2 separate regions of the Homo sapiens genome follow, and region 1 is linked to region 2. Evidence: promoter capture Hi-C in human tissues and cell types (Jung and others, 2019). All regions are on one chromosome and are shown on one strand. Each heading gives the region's core, a stretch centred on a gene start or on the middle of the fragment in contact. The rest is flanking DNA. Distances are from core to core; before and after follow the strand shown.

What was found. The method cuts DNA at HindIII sites, captures the fragments that hold promoters and counts their contacts. A contact is called where the count stands out against the background at its distance.
Region 1: a contact is called between a fragment that was not itself captured here and the fragment with the promoter of KMT2A in region 2, in 1 of the 25 tissues and cell types used here (dorsolateral prefrontal cortex).

What each region holds. Positions count from the first base shown.
Region 1 is chr11:117,337,120-117,339,901 of GRCh38, reverse strand. CEP164 (centrosomal protein 164) reads right to left here. Exons shown (of 33, transcript NM_014956.5): 3 at 1,234-1,336. The coding sequence starts at 1,315. Among named protein-coding and RNA genes, the nearest start is that of CEP164, 11 kb to the right of the region's middle. The HindIII fragment of the contact is 3,425 bases long and covers 1-2,782 here.
Region 2 is chr11:118,435,052-118,437,751 of GRCh38, reverse strand. KMT2A (lysine methyltransferase 2A) reads right to left here and starts at 1,260. Exons shown (of 36, transcript NM_001197104.2): 1 at 808-1,260. The coding sequence starts at 1,239. RefSeq lists enhancers at 1-291, 292-1,290, 1,952-2,091, 1,291-2,288 and a silencer at 1,162-1,641. The HindIII fragment of the contact is 10,858 bases long and covers 1-2,700 here.

The sequences.
Region 1 (2,782 bases), core at 67-2,566, 1.1 Mb after region 2:
CATCTGTAAAATGGGGATAATAATAGTACCTAACTCATGGAGTTGCAGTGAGGGTTGAAAAGGTAATACATGGGCCAGGCATGGTGTCTCCCGCCTGTAATCCCAGCACTCTGGGAAGTGGAGGTGGGAAGATCACTTGAGGTCAGTTTGAGACCAGCCTGGCCAACACTGCAAAACCCCTTCTCTACTAAAAATACAAAAATTAGTTCCCCAGGTGTGGTGGTGGGCACCTGTAGTTCTAGCTACTCAGGAGGCTGAGGCATGAGATTCGCTTGAACCCGGGAGAGAGAGGTTGCAGTGAGCCAAGATCATACCACTGCATTCCAGCCTGGGTGACAGAGTGAGACTCTGTCTCAAAAAAAAAAAAAAAAAAAAAAAACAAAAAACAAAGGAAAAGGTAATAAGGTAATACATGCAAAGTGCTTAAAACAGACGCTGGCACATAATAAGTTATGTTGTTATTGTTACTAATAATGTTATTGTTGTTTAAAAAAACACTGCTCTAAGTTCGTGCTTAGGAAATTGGGTTTCCCCTGGTCTCAGAACACACTGTATTTAGATACCCCCTACTATGTTTCCATTTAAATCTAATCACTGCTCTAACCCAAAGACAGCAAACTTTTTCTGTAAACAACCGGAGAGTAACTATCTTACCCTTTGTGGGTCATATACCTCTCTTAACAGCCACATATCTCTGCAGCTGTAGCATAGAAGCAGCCACACACAATACATAAACCATTGTGGCTGTTTTCCAATGAAGGTGTATTTACAAAAATAGGCAAGTAGCCAGGCAAGGTGGCTCACGCCTGTAATCCCAGCACTTTGGGAGCCGGAGGCAGGCAAACCGCTTGAGGTCGGGAGTTCGAGACCAGCTTGTCCAACATGGTGAAACCCGTCTCTACTAAAAGTACAAAAAATTAGCCAGGTGTGGTGGTGCACGCCTGTAATCCCAGCTTCTCGGGAGGCTGAGGTGGGAGAATCACTTGAACCTGGGAGGCAGAGGTTGCAGTGAGCTGAGATCACGCCACTGCACTCCAGCCTGGGCAACAGAAAGAAACTTAAAAAAAAACAGGCAAGAGGCCAAGGTAGGCTCACATTTGATCTAACCCGAATATACTAAGCAACTCTGTACATGTACCATACTTTGCACTGAAAGAATAAAAATAAACCAGACAATCCCTGTCCTCAAAAAACAAACACAATACACCACAGGCCTCTTCACAGACTTGTTACCTTGCTCACTAGGAATGTAGGTCTCATCATAATCTTCTTCCAGAACCAGCTGATCTCCTATGCGGAGGGGTCGTCCAGCCATGACTCATCTGGGCTCAAACACCTAGATCCCAGAGGCCCCCACCAAAAGAGAAAAATCAGTGACCAAGCTTAACAGGGGAAAAGTTGGCACTGGGTCATGGAGCATCTGGGTCAAACCAGACCCTGCAGAGCAATTTGGCCAGGGCCTTCCCAGGCGCCAGGTATAGTGGAGGGTGAAACCAACAACTCAAGGCTCACAGGCTCTGCACCTGGCAAAGGTCTCCCAAAGGCTTGATGAACACCTGGTGAACCACAAAACATCTTCAAGCCTGGCTCTGTCAAGAGTTTGACTTTGTGCCTCCCCCAGATAGAAGAAACAATTATAATACAGAACCACCAAGTAAAAATCCTAGTGACACCAAAATAACCAGCAGCACAGACCCCCATACACCAGCACATCTCCGTGGCACACCCCCATCTCAACACATATGCCCATCTGGATGTCCCGATTCATATCCAAAATGCCCTCAGGAAGCTTACAATCCAGTGGCGGGAACGACCTCAAGAGCAGCAGAAGGCAGAAGGGAAAAAAACTTCCTGTTCTGAGAGTGCTAAGATAAGGGCAAAAAATTTCCCCAAAAAAAGGAAGGAAGGAAGGAAGGCTGGCAAGAATTCTGATGGGGGAGAAAGGCATTCTAAACAGAGGGAGCATCTTGCACAGACAGGTGTTCCAGAGTGGGGATACCAACATGTGTGACCGGCTGGTCACAGTGAGCCTTGCAGACCGTGCTAAAGAGCCTCCACCCTGTCCTACACCAGAGGGGAGTCACTGAGGGCTCTGGTGAAACAAAGTATCACAGGGTGGCCTTTTTTTAGGACAAGAATTCTGGCAAGACTGGCATGGCTGGATTGGAGAAATGAGAGACTGGTGTCAGGAAAACCACCTGAGGAGGCTGCTGCCCAGGGGCGAGATGATAAGGACTTTAACTAGGGCAGAAGCAGGGGAATGAAGAAGAGACAGTCAGAACAGACCCAGTGATGTTAAGCTTAATAGGACCAGGATATGGGGGAAAAGTGGAAAGGAGCTACATCCCTTCAAAATTCACATATGTATATATTTTACTTTTTTTTTTTTTTACAGAGATGGTGTCTCACTATGTTGCCCTGGCTGGTCTTGAACTCCTGGGTGCAAGCAATGCTCCCGCCTCAGCCTCTCAAAGTAAGAAAAATACACATATTGAAGCCCTAATCCACAATGTGACTGGTTCTTTAGGAGGTAATTAAAGTTAAATGAGGTCATTAAGGTTAAATGGCCTGATAGGATTAAAAGGAGAGGAAGAAAGGACCAGGAACCAGGGCAGCAGATGGGGCCCACTGTCTAGTGGCTTAGAGGTCTCTCTCTACCATCTGAGGACACAGCAAGAAGGCAGCTGTCTGCAAGACAGGAACCAGCAACAGACTTTGATATGGGCCTTCTAGCTTCCAGAACTATGAGAAAAGAGATTTCTGTTGTTGGAGCCCCCCAGTC
Region 2 (2,700 bases), core at 11-2,510:
GTGGAGTGAAGGTAGAGTAATTCCCGGCTACCAATAGGCTAGAAACTGTAGCCCTGTAAGACGGGGCGGGGGGGGGAAGAGACTGCTGTATGAGGAATCACCGTTATCTTCAGAGGGAAAGGAGGTGAGACCAGGCAAGGTGCAGAGGAGAGATTTTCCCCGGTGGGGTAGGGCGGGATGGGGGAGGATCGGTCTGCTTGGGGTGGGGGTAGAGGGTGGAGGTGAAGGAAGGGGGAGTGGCTGGCAGTATAGGGACCTGGCCCGGGGATGGCGCGAGGGTTCATCGGGTTTTCGAAAGCAAGGTGCTGGAAGGGACACGATCCCCAAGGGCCAGGAGAACGTGGCCCTGGATGAGGCCATCACCCGAGAGACGCCCGAGAGGAAAACTGCCCTAGGAGTAACACATCTGCCCAGAGAGGGAGGCGGGGATGTGGCGGGATCAGGTCTCTAGGAGGGAGGGAGGGAGGAATCTTGCTCGGATGAGGTAATCTGTGAAAGGGAGGAGGGGTTCAGTCCCGGGATGGGAAACCCCGGCGAGGGGGTCTGTGCCAAGGGATTTGGGGAAGGGTCAGGGGGAGGAGAGCGGGGGGCAAACGCCCTCAGCCAGATGGGCCCAAACCCCGGGGTGGGGGCGCCTGGGGGTCTGCAGCCCTGCATGGGGGTCCCAAGATGGGAGAGCCATTCGCCCCGGGTCAGGGACCCCGAGATGGTCCCAGAATTGGGATGCTCCTCAATCCCGGATGGGGGAGGGGAGGGGGCTCCGCAGAGGGTCGAGACCCCGGACCTGGGGGTTCCTCGCCCCCTTACCTCTCCGCTGCCGCCTCCCCCGCCGCTCTCCCCAAACACGGCCCGGAACCGGCGCAGGTTGGTGCCGATGGCGGCCGAGACCTGCAGCGCCGCGTCGAAGCCCGGGCCCACCCGGAGCAGGGCCGGCCCTGAAGAGGCTGAGGACGATGACGAAGACGAAGACGAGGCGGACGACGAGGAGGCTGCTGAGGCGGCGGCCGCTCCCCCTGGAACCCCAGCCCCGCTGCTTCCCGCCGCCGCCGCCGCGGCCGCCACAGCCGGGGGGGAGGGGGGCGCCCCGGGGCCGCCACCGCCGACCGGGGGCCCGGGGGGAAGCAGCAGGGCCGGGACGCGTTGCCGCGGGGCGCCCCCTAGGCCCCGGCGCCCCCCGCCGCCGCCGCCCCCGGTGGTCCCGGGTCGGGCGGGGAAGCGCCACCGACAGCTGTGCGCCATGTTCGCCCCGTGAAGTGAAGCAGCGAGAGGGAGAGGCGACAACACAGGGGGGCGGGGAGGCGGAGGGGGGGGCACGGGGCCCCGGAACCTGCCTAACCAGCTCTGCGCCGCCCGGCCGCCTGCACCCTGCCGGCCGCTATGCAGAGCGCCGGGCCGCGCCCGCCAGCCCCGCAATCTGTATAGCGGCCTCGGGCCTCCGCCTCTGACGCCTGGGCGCTGCAACTCCATCCCGAGGCCCGGGCCGCCGCCTCCTGCCCGCCCGCCGGCCCCGCAACCTGGATAACTGCATGCCCCGCCCTCCGGGAGAGGCATTGCTCGGGAAAAGGAGGGGGGAAGGAAGCCCGGGAGCCCGGAGCAGAGCGCGGGTTCCGGAGAGAGGGGGAGGGGGCGAGGACTACGCGGAGGATGGAGGCGTAGGGAGCCGGGCCGCCTGCAGCCTTGAGCGCCGAGAGGCCGATTACACACGTTCCCGGGACGCGCTGGGAATCGAACAGCCCGGGAGAGCAGCTTCCAGTATAACGCGGCGGCTGGGTCGGGGAGCAGTGAGCCTTCTCCTCCGCCCCAGGGCACGGATACAAGATGGGTTAGCCCGAATTGAACGCTTCTAGAATAAAAGAGCCCTTATTGTACTACATGCAAAACAGAAGCGCTGCCCAGTTTACTATATGCAAAACAGAAAGGCCCTCAATGAACGCACTTTAAAAAATAAAAAAGGAGCCCCTCCCATTTTCATGCTGGAGCTCTTTCCAAAAAGCACACACCGAGTGGCAGGTCTCCTGCCACCTCCTCGCTCTACTGTGCACTCGTCTGGCTTTCGTGCCCTTCTGCAGGGAGTTGGGTTGTGTTTCTCCAGCCCGGGCACTGAGGCCACGGCGTGCTCCGCTAACGACGCGGTGTTACAACGAAGCTGAAGCTGGGTGGCTAACGGGGCCTGGAGGGAAGAGGCGGGCAAAAGCGCCCCCGCCCCTTCTTCCTCCGGTCTCTGCCTGCCGCTGCATGCAAAGCAGACCCTAATGTATGCACGCAGAGGGAGGGGGGCTCGCGAGCACGTTTCTGATTAAGAGAGGGGGAGGAGGAGAGCGTTGGGCATTATGATACACTGGGTGGAAGGGGCCCGCCGGCGGCGAGCTCTGTGCGCGGGGTTAGTAAGCTGAGGGGGGAGGGGGAAAGAAGGAGGCGAGTTAGGGAGGGGAATGAATATCCACCGGGTTTACTTTATTGCGGGAAAGAGGGGAGGGCGCCTCGAGCATAGCGTTAGACGCCTGCAAGGCTGGGAAAGCCGAGAGGGTAGGGAGGGGTTTGTGTCGGGAGAACTTGCGTTGGCTGAGGCTGGGGGATCGATACACAGCCTGCAGGCCCCGGGGCAGCCTCCATCCCCCAAGCCGAGGGGGAGTTCGCTGGAAGGTCATGCAGCCTTCCTGGACTCCCGCACCGGTACAGCGCACTGCATGTAATATTACA